3 separate regions of the Homo sapiens genome follow, and regions 1 and 3 are each linked to region 2. Evidence: promoter capture Hi-C in 16 types of primary human blood cells and fetal thymus (Javierre and others, 2016). All regions are on one chromosome and are shown on one strand. The core of a region is centred on a gene start or on the middle of the fragment in contact, and the rest is flanking DNA. Distances in the headings are between cores, read along the strand shown.

Evidence for each region. The method cuts DNA at HindIII sites, captures the fragments that hold promoters and counts their contacts. A CHiCAGO score of 5 or more calls a contact.
Region 1: a contact is called between the fragment with the promoter of BATF here and the fragment with the promoter of NPC2 in region 2, in 1 of 17 cell types (total CD8 T cells). The highest score is 5.4, in total CD8 T cells.
Region 3: the fragment with the promoter of DCAF4 here is called in contact with the fragment with the promoter of NPC2 in region 2 in 1 of 17 cell types (non-activated CD4 T cells); the score reaches 7.3 in non-activated CD4 T cells.

What each region holds. Positions count from the first base shown.
Region 1 is chr14:75,520,850-75,524,054 of GRCh38, reverse strand. It overlaps BATF (basic leucine zipper ATF-like transcription factor), which reads right to left and starts at 1,586. Exons shown (of 3, transcript NM_006399.5): 1 at 1,310-1,586. The coding sequence starts at 1,372. RefSeq lists an enhancer at 1,289-1,618. The HindIII fragment of the contact is 2,331 bases long and covers 1,039-3,205 here.
Region 2 is chr14:74,491,376-74,494,764 of GRCh38, reverse strand. It overlaps NPC2 (NPC intracellular cholesterol transporter 2), which reads left to right and starts at 1,460. Exons shown (of 5, transcript NM_006432.5): 1 at 1,460-1,572. The coding sequence starts at 1,491. It overlaps ISCA2 (iron-sulfur cluster assembly 2), which reads right to left and starts at 1,000. Exons shown (of 4, transcript NM_194279.4): 1 at 920-1,000; 2 at 613-715; 3 at 375-490. The coding sequence starts at 990. RefSeq lists an enhancer at 918-997 and silencers at 1,198-1,477, 1,648-1,707. The HindIII fragment of the contact is 4,485 bases long and covers 1-3,389 here.
Region 3 is chr14:72,924,233-72,927,713 of GRCh38, reverse strand. It overlaps DCAF4 (DDB1 and CUL4 associated factor 4), which reads right to left and starts at 1,250. Exons shown (of 14, transcript NM_015604.4): 1 at 1,171-1,250. RefSeq lists enhancers at 1-540, 1,212-1,481, 1,772-1,871, 2,272-3,138 and a silencer at 982-1,041. The HindIII fragment of the contact is 1,582 bases long and covers 757-2,338 here.

The DNA.
Region 1 (3,205 bases), core at 337-2,836, 1.0 Mb before region 2:
ACTGGGCTCACCAACATGTCCAATACTTTCAGGCCTTTGTGGTAGGAGGTCATTGGCATAGATAGGAAGGAAGTGCTCTTCCTCTAAGGGGGATGGGGCACCAGGTTACCATGGAAGCCATGAGTAATTTCCTTCCTAAGAAAAGTACAAACTTCCAGGCAGTCAGAGCCACTCTGACACCATCTTGAGCAGCAGACTGGATTCTGTGCCTTCTAGAGGTCTCCACCCAGACTCATCCCAGCCTGCTGCTCCGTTATTAGAGGCTTAGGATATACGCCCTGTTCAATATTTATATACTTTTATTTTGGCTGCAGCATTTTGAAAACCCTTGTGGATATCTGTGCTAAGGAAAGAATGAAGTTTTTAAACTATGAAGGTTGAGAAAATTTTAACCCACGGATACATGTCGGATGAGAAAGAGGAGGGCTTCCTACAGCAAGGGATGTCAAGAGTGTGGTGCAGAACAAAACCCTAGAAGCTGTGAGATGGGCAGGGCACTCCTTTTTTGGTAATCCTCAAGCTAAAACCTTTGGACTTGGAAGTCACAATCTAGACTCCAAATGCTCCCACAATCCCTATCTCAGTCTCTCTGGTTTCCCCAGAGCTAAGATGAACTACCAGCAAATGTCTTCCAACAAATTTCCAGAGCCACCTCCTCATTCATTTCCTTGCTCCTATCCAGAAGCCACAAGCAAAGAGATATTGGCTGGACCTCTAGCATCTCCCCTTGCTGGCTGTGCTAGCAACAGAGGCAGTGCCCCAGTAGAGAGATCCTTCTATGCTAGCCTGGGTTTCTCCTCCTCCTCCTCCTTCTTCCTCTTCTTCTTCTTCTTTTTTTTTTTTTTTAACTTTTCCCTAACCCCTTTTCTCCCCTTCCCTATTGGCTGTCTCCTGGGAAACTGCATATCTAGGATTTGAGCTGTGCATGCCAGCGGCCCACTTGAAAACTCCTCTCACTTTTCTACAGCCTTGGAGAACAGTAGACTCTTTTCTCTGCATTCTTTGATGTTCATCCTCCTCTTTGCTTCCTAGAAAGCTTTTTAGGGTGGCAACCCCAGTGAGGCAGAGGTGATAGGCAGCCTTGGAAAATGGAGAGAAAAAGGGGCTTTGGCAGAATGGGTGGAAGGATGAGGATCTCTGCCAATATGCACAGCTTAGTAGCAAATTCCATGTCCTAAGTCTAACAGAGTGCCCGTGCAACGAGCCACTTCCTCCATCCTCAGCTCCCTGGGCAGGACAAGGAAGCCTGGCTCTCTTTCCATCCCCCAGGAGAATCAGAAGGTAGGAGAGAGAAAAAGGAGGACTCTACCTGTTTGCCAGGGGGAGGAGAGCGGCTGAAGCTGGAGTCACTGCTGTCGGAGCTGTGAGGCATGGCTGAAATCTTCCGGGCTCTCACACTCAGCCCCAGGCACCTCTGGGCTCTCTTGTCACCAGCTGGGCTCCCTTCCTGACTTCTCCTGGGCCACCAGCCCACCACCCCCTACAGGTGCCTCCTCTGCCTGCCCTGTAGCCACCTCTGACCCCTGCGTCCTCCTCACTCTGGGGTGCAGAGGGACTGCTCCCCAAAGGGACATGTCGCTCGCTTTGGGGCTTGCACGCTCTCTCTCTCTCTTGTGGTTTCTGGTAACTCACGCTGGAAGTCACATGGGCGGAAACTTCAGCGAGTTAGAAGTTAGAGAGAAAAATACATATCTGGGAAAAGACCTACAGAATTATGTGAAAGAAAAAAAAATACAGATACCTTCCGACAGTTTGAAAGACACAGCAGCCCTCTTCAATTGATGAAGATAAAAGAGAAAAACAGCCCAGGCAGGGAAAAACCCCAGCCAGAATTAGCAAGTCCGTCTTCTGTCAACATGGGCAGAGAGGAGAGGACAACCAGGAAAATGTTTCCATTGTCATACGACTTGATTTTTAAACCAAAATAAAGCAAAAACACTGGGATTTCTTTCTGGTTTTCAGCCGAAAGCAGCTGCTCACCCATCTTGTCTTTCCTCACCCCTTAAGTCCAGCCAGCCTCGGGGTGGTCTGGAGATAAGACGATCCAAGGGTATTCTCCTTTCCTGACCATCAAACACAAGGGCTGTGGGAGATCAGAAAGCCACAAGGGAGGTTCTAGAATTGCTGCTCTGAAAGCCTATTAAGCGCCTGTGCTGCTTGGCAGGGAGCTCACACTCTTTAGAGAAAAGATGCCTTCCATATTGAGCAGCTCAAGACAGGCCCTGAATCTTTATGATTCAAGGTCACCTGGTCAGAACCCAGAATGCAGAAACAGTTAAAAAAAAAAAAGAAAGAAAGAAAGAAAGAAAAAGTGAAACAAATACTACACTTGGAGTCAGACCAACCAAGATTTAAATTCTGGTTCTACCACTTTGTATGTCTGTGGCCCTGGGTAGCTCACTTGAGCTATGTGACCTTCATTATCTTCATCTGTAAACAGAGGATGATAAAACCTGCCCTGCCTACCTCTTAGGAATGTGGCACAAAGCAAATGACAACGCGGATTAGAATGCCCCGCAGACTCTGAAGTAAATGACCGAGAGGGTAAGTGTAGGGTATTCCCAGCCTTGCCATGAGCGCATTTGTAGGGTTCTCAGTGATCAATTCAACCCTCACCTGGGCATCGTGGCTTTTTCAAAAGGCCTTACCTTATTCCCAGTATGGCTCGAAGCCAAACATTTGCCTTATTAAATTTTAGGATTGACAGGAAGTTACGGCTCCTAGAGGATTTTTGTATCCATGAGCTGAATTTCTAGACTAAGACAATATTGCCCTAAGGTTAAATTAAGTAAGACAAAATTCCTTTCCTATGGAGGAAAATAAAGCAGGGTTGGAGGTTAGGGAATTCTGGGTGGTCAGAAGGGCCTTGCCCAAAGAGGGGATACCTGAGCAGAGATTCGAAGAAAGAGAGGGAGTGAATGGTGAGTGTCTCAGGGAAGGACATTCCAGGACCTGAGGTGGAAGTGTGCTTGAGTATTGGAAAAAGAGCAGGGGGGCCAGGTAGTTGGATATCAGAGGCAGCAAAAGTGGCAGGCGATGAGGTCAGTGAGGTAATGGCCCGGTCAGGGAGGGCCTTAGAGGCCAACATCAGGATTTTAGCTTTCATTCTGAAAGACACAGTGAGCCCATGGAGGGTTTCCCCTTCCACCTTCATTCTTATCCTCTACCTCAGCTACTATTCATTTCTCCCATAGCAGTTACCCAA
Region 2 (3,389 bases), core at 211-2,710:
CCCAGAGGTGCACATCCTCTGTTTTCTAAAGTACAGAGGGAGCTTCCCCATTACCTTTAACAGGTGCTGATTTTCTTTGAGGCAAAATGATTCAATGGAATAAATACTGGGAAACGTGTAGGGACTTAAGCCTGGAATCTAGTCCGGCCTGACTTTCTACCGACTACCCAATGGACCTGGGCAGATCAATTTTGCTCCTATAACTTAGTTACTTTGATTCAGAACAACAAACCTTTACTGCATCCTCACTGTGAGACGGGCGGTGTTAACCATCCCAGGTAAACCCTTTAAATTTGGAATAAAAGTGCACCTTAAACTGGAGACACTTTTGTCCCTCCTGTACCTCCTTTGGGGGCCCACCCCTTCCTCCTTGCCTGTCGTCGGGGTTGATAACTGTATCCAGTGAAAATTTGTATTGGAATCCGGAGCATCCACCTCCCTCCACTTGCAGCCTGAGGAATTCTGACCCTTCGGTGATTTCCAAAAGCCTCTGAAATGCAGGAAGGGGGATCAAGAATAGCGGGAAACGGGAGTTAAAGGGCTGAGTGAAGAGCAGTTCCCGCTGCTCCCGCCAATCGCCTGGGTACCGCCGCTCCGCGTCCGGCCTCCTACCTGGACGCAACTGTCTGTGAGGCGGATCTGCCCTTCGCCGGCCTCGGGGCTGGAGGACGACGCCTCCCGACGCGCCTGGGGTCCCAGGGAGGCCGTGAGGAGCCTGCGCGCAAGGGAGGAGGGTGAGCCCGGGAGCAGAAGGGGCACCTTGCAACCCTCGACCTGGAGCGCCTCACGCTAAACCTGGCGACCCCCACCTGGACGGCCTCCCACCAAACCCTCGCATCCCCCACAGGCCTTAGTTTCCCATTTGTCCTAGAGGCGCAGAACCAAACACCCTTTCCAGGTGCCTTTCTAGTCTTGGTACCTGCCCCTCGGCCAGGGAGTGACCGCTCTCTGCGTCGCGGCCGTTAGGGACGACCCCCAGGCGGCAGCCATCTTCCTCCACAAGCTCCGCCCCTCGCGTCTCCCCCGTTTCTCACCCGGGGCCTCGGGAGGCGGAGAGAACGAACAGGAGGCCGGGACTTCACGGAGGCCCCGCCCCCCCAACATGCCTATTGGGTAGTGCGGGAGGAGAAGGTGTCTGATTGGCTAGGAATGCTCCAGACGGCAGCGGCGGGGACGCACCCAGGAAGCCGGAGAGGTGCTCTAAAGGGAAGGAACGGGGCGGGGAGGAGTGAGGCGGGGCGGGGCGGAGGTGGGTCCGGGCGGGTCAGGCCTCTGAGGGGATGGCATGGGCGGAGACTGCAGGCTTCTGGGCCTGAGAGGGCTGGAGCTGGCTTTCCGGAGCCGGGGGCGGGGCGCGGGCGGGCCTCAGCTGTGGTTACTGGTGACAGGTCGCCTGACTGGGCTCCTCCCCGGGCCCGCCCCGACAGGTTTGTCTTGTGACCGCGGGCGGCCGCTGCTTCTTTCCCGAGCTTGGAACTTCGTTATCCGCGATGCGTTTCCTGGCAGCTACATTCCTGCTCCTGGCGCTCAGCACCGCTGCCCAGGCCGAACCGGTGCAGTTCAAGGACTGCGGTGAGCCCCAGGCCCGCCCAAGGTTCCCGCGCCCTCTGTGGAAGGCCCCGCCGGACCCCCGCGCTGAGACCCCTGGGGCTGGGCTGGGCGGATCCCTCGGGCGGCCAGGCTGAGCCTTGGACCCTACCTAACTGGAATGGGCTGGGTCGGGGGAGAAGGCGCCGGCCTCCATGAAACCCGACCGCGCACAACTTTGTTTCTTTCCTTAGAACGCGTGTTTTGGGGTTCCTGGGAACTCCAGGAGGTGGGCCTTTTGCTGAAGTTTCCTAAAGTTTGTAGGGCGGACAACAGAAGGGCTGTATCCAGCTCTGGTGGAGGGGTGGAGCACAGAACTTCTTTTTATTTATGCTTTGTATCTTGGAATCCCGCCTCCCCCTTCCAACTCCTTTTGCTTTTCTTTTAATTTCGTTTTTGCTGACAAGTCAAAAGTCAATTCCCCTTTTTCATCATTTATTGTTACAAATAGGACTTCCTTTGGGCTTTGGAATCTTGTGATTCTTAATCAGTTTTTCCTTGTATAAATCTCATTGTGTCTCTAATCACAGCTTGTGATACATAACTCCCTCTCGCCGCTGTGGTTGGAATCTTTGTTGGAAAATACAACAGGTGGTAGAAATTCTGAGTGCCTTCATTGAGTCGAGTCTATAGAATTGTCGGAACAGAAACTCGAGCAATGTTGTTCAGAGGTGGAGATAGAGAGATAGAACTGTCAATGAAAGAGGCATGAAACTGACTTTGTAAGATCTATGAGTGGAAAGGAAGCACGGAGATCGTATAATCAATCATTGAATTCCAGGGATGTTGGGTAGCCTACCTAAAGTCACGCAGCAGAATGGGGAGCCAGAGTAAGTGTAACCGCCCAAGGGGTTCACCTTGCGCATTGCCTAGACAGAGCGGATTTATCAAGATGGGATTTGCAGTGGCGAAAAGAGTAATTCACGCAGAGCCGGCTGTGGGGGAGGCCGGAGTTTTATTGTTACTCAGATCAGTCTCCCCGAGCATTCGGGGATCAGAGTTTTTAAGGATAATTTGGCGGGTATGGGCTTGGAAAGTGGGGAGTGCTGATTGGTCAGGTTGAAGATAAAATCATAGGAGAGTCGAAGTGAGTTCTTCTTGCTGACCTCTGGGTGGTGTCATTTGCTGCATCGGAATGCAGGATCTGCAAAATATCTCAAGCACTGACCTTAGGTTTTACAATAGTGATATCATTACCAGGAGCAATTTGGGGAGGTTCAGACTCTTACAGCCAGAGGCGGCGTGGCCCCTAAACTCGTAGCTAATTTGTTAGTCCTACAAAGGCAGACCGGTCCCCAGGCAAGAAGGGGTTTTTCAGGAAAGGGCTATTATCCATTTCGTTTCAGAGTTTAAACTATAAATTCCTCTCCAAGACTAGTTCAGCCTACACCCAGGAATGAACAAAGACAGTTTAGAGGTTAGAAGGAAGATGGGTAGGTGAGTCCTGATCTCTTTCACTGTCTTAATTTCCTCAGGATTTTTGCAAAGGCGGTTTCATAAGTTTGCTGCTTTATATCCAGTGCCCAGGTAATAGTAACTGCTCAATGAAATGTGTTGAAAACATAGATGGAAATCTTTTTCCCCTATGTCATAAAAATTCATGTTGAGACAAAAGCAAAGTTGGGGATTAGGGGACAGGATTGATTAAGGAATGGAGTGCTGGCCGATTAACACTTAAATGCTATTCCATTGATTTAGGAGACTGGCACTTGAAAGCTATTATCGCTTCAAATTACTGCCTTTCCCTCCATTAAACTTAGTAGCCAGCGTTTGGATGAAGACACTATTAATTTTAATAACTC
Region 3 (3,481 bases), core at 1-2,500, 1.6 Mb after region 2:
AACAGGGATTCCACCTCTGTTGGTAGGACCCCCAGGCCTGGTTACCCACAGAACACCACCTCAGGCCGGGCGCGGTGGCTCACGCCTGTAATCCCAGCACTTTGGGAGGCCGAGGCGGGCGGATCACGAGGTCAGGAGATCGAGACCATCCTGGCTAACACGGTGAAACCCCGTCTCTACTAAAAATACAAAAAATTAGCCGGGCGAGGTGGTGGTCGCCTGTAGCCCCAGCTACGCGGGAAGCTGAGGCAGGAGAATGGCGTGAACCCCGGGGGCGGAGGCTGCAGTGAGTCGAGATCGTGCCACTGCACTCCAGCCTGGGCGACAGCGAGACTCCGCCTCAAAAAAAAAAAAAAAAAAAAAAAAAAAAGAACACCACCGCGACTCTAATTTCCATCGTTATTTAAAATCAGAGTTTGGGACTTTGGAATTGTTTCCTCTAGGAAGCCGTCCCCTCAGTTTTCTTTGCTTCTGGCTGCGCTGCTGGAGTCACAAGACAATGCCTGTAGAACACCATGGTGAAAGGCGTCATGGTTTCTGAAGCCCCCGGGGAGCCCACGAGGCGTGGCTTTCTCGCTAACTCACAACTCAGAGTGGAGGCGAGGGCCAAACCCAGGCCCCATCACTTGCTAGTTGTGCGCTACCCCGACGGACAACCAAACTGCACCCCTTTCTGCGTCTGACAAGGACATCATAGCGCTGGCAAATGTTAGCGCCTGTGAAGCCGGCAGCACAGAGCCGGCCACTTCGTAAGCTTCAACCACACCTAACCTGTTATGCTGACCTGAACATTCACAGGGGACACCGCCCCAAGGCCCGCAGCCCAGCCCCCGCCAGGTGTCGGGTGGGGCCTTCAGCAGCAGGTCTCAGAGAAGCGCTTAGAGAAACGCCCTCAGCGGCGACACTCGGGGTGCCCTCCCTGCGTGTTTACGGTTGCAGCACTGATCCGGCCGGAGGGCCCCACGCGCCCCAGAACGGGCGGAGCGCGCCGGCCCAGCTGCCACCTAGGCCCGGTGGCGCCGGCGTTCCACGTGCTCACTCCTCCCCGCCCCTCCCCGCCCCTTTCCCTGGCCTTCCTCGCCGCGCCTGTCTCCCACCCCGAGCTCTGCAGCGGGAGCGCGGCAGCCCTCGAATCGATGCCAGTAGGCACCCCAGGCAGCACAGTCTTACCTGTTCAGCGTGTCCCTTCCGGATTCCCCTCCGGCTCAGCTCTGCAGGAGTTGGAGCGAAGCGTGCAAGGACCCGGAAAGACCAAGGTGTAGCGTCAGCCAGTTAGGTGGATGCGTTTTGGTGTTGTAGCAGCCGATAGGGCTATAGCGGCCGTTCTTTCCTTCTCACTGGACGCGGCTTCTGTCTGTCGACGTCAATAGGGACGATCTCATGAAGAAGGCGGGGAGTGGGGCTTCGGCTCCTCCCAGGCCTGGCCTGTCTGGGGCGGATGCACGTGGAGGCTGGTCATGGAGCGCTTGGGGGTGGGGCCAGGCGCACGCGGGGGCGGGGCCGGGGGCTGCTCCCGGAGCAGCGGAACTGTCTGGAGACCCTTTCGTGAGAGACCGTGTCTTCCTCCCTCCGCAGGGTGATGCGGCCCTGGAGAAGTCCTCTCGCTGTAGTGGAAAGAGCGAAGGAGTCTGTGAGGCGAGGGACAGAAGTAACGTGATGTTACGACTGGCGGCGAAGTCTTCGGCAGTGGCCTCAGGCGGCCGAGGCCGCTGCCCTGGGTCTGCGTTCAGGGTGTAGCGTAGCGAGCCCTGACCGTGAAACCGGGGGGCCTCCGTGTTGGCTCCAGTACTGCTGCTTGCTGTGGGACCTAGGGCGAGTCTCTTCCCTTCTCTGTGCCTTGATTTCTTCTGTTGAGAGAAGGAATCGGATCTATCATTCTCATGTCCTCTCCAGCTTAGAGTTTGTTCAGACCACCAATATTTCTAGAATGACCTATGTGTGCTGTGCCTGTCCCAGGTATCAGCTGACGGTTATGAGATCTTATGAAAGGAAAACGGAAGCCTCTGATGGGCTTGTGTCCCGAAGAGACAGTTTGTGAGGACAGCTGGATTCACAGAGGCTAGGCTTGTTGGGGTCCAGCAGTAGGCCTGGTGTGTCATGCGGCTCCGTAACACAGGCCCCTGCCCGCGGCTTGGACCCGTTAGAAAGCAGGCGGTGGGGTTCACCCATTGCACGCCGTGCGAAGGCATTTCAGCTCTTAACCAGGAAGCTAGGATTTCAGGCTAAACTCCTGGCTCTCAGGAGTTTATAGATAAATGCAGTATGTGGAGCGGGGCCGGGTGATGAGGGAAATGAGAGAAGTGGGCATAGTCAGAATAAAGAACCGCTTCATGAAGCTTGAGCGGCCTTGAAGAGAAGGCAGAGAAAAATTCTAGCTGAACAAACAACGTGACTGGAGGCCGGTTCAAGCCGGCTGGATGGGAGGGGAGTCTTGGAAGGAAAACTCAGCAGGGTGGGTTGGGGCTTGGTGACGCAGCAATTGCCAGGGAAAGAGTAGTCAGGCCGGGTGCAGTGGCTCACGCCTGAAATCCCAGCACATTGGGAGGTTGAGGCGGGTGGATCACTTGAGGCTAGGAGTTCCAGACCAGCCTGGCCAACATGGCGAAACCCCCAACTCTACTAAAAATACAAAAAATTAGCCGGGCGTGGTGGCGGGCGCCTGTAATCCCAGCTACTCAGGAGGCTGAGGCAGGAGAATTGCTTGAACCCGGGAGGCGGGGGTTGCAGTGAGCCGAGATAGCGCCATTGCACTCCAGCCTGGGTGACAGAGTGAGACCCTGTCTCAAGAAAAAAAAAAGTAGACAATGGGAGGCTCTGAGGGTTCTAGAGTTGGGAAGTGACAGGACTAGAGCTGTGCTTCTGGGAAATCACCGTGTAGGGGGTTGGGGAGAAAAGATTGTGGAAGTCAGCTGGGAGACCCCTAAGGAACTTATTGCAGCAACAGTCCTTGTGAAAGGTAGTGAGGGCCAAACCAGGGTGGGGGTAGCCAGGATGGAAGGGGGGTACAGATGGGAGGCAGAATTCAGAGGGAGAATCGGCCAGACTTAACTCTCGGGGAGGAGTCAAGCTGGATTTTCCACTGAAGAGCCAGGGGACACTTGAGGAAGGTGGCAGGAGGAGTTGGCTTGGGCTTGCTGAGTCAATGAGTGGCTGGCAGCCGGCCAGCAGGCTCTGTTGAATGTCCACAGAGGGGACAGTGACGTGGGCATGAGATATACCTCGGGGACCTGCAACACACACAGATGAAAGATTAAAGAATGTTTGCAAATCAGTGAACAAATGAAGCTTGCTGGGCCTTGGGCAAGTCATGAGGCATTCCAACCTCAGTTTCTTCACAGATTAGAATGAGGATAAGACATCTACTGAGAAAGGTTGTAAGGAGTAAGCGCTGATGATGGAGTACCTCACCCAGGACTTGGTGCACAGCGCCCATTGGTTAAGCACCCGCGATTATAAAGGTAGCATGGTATCTAGATGGTGT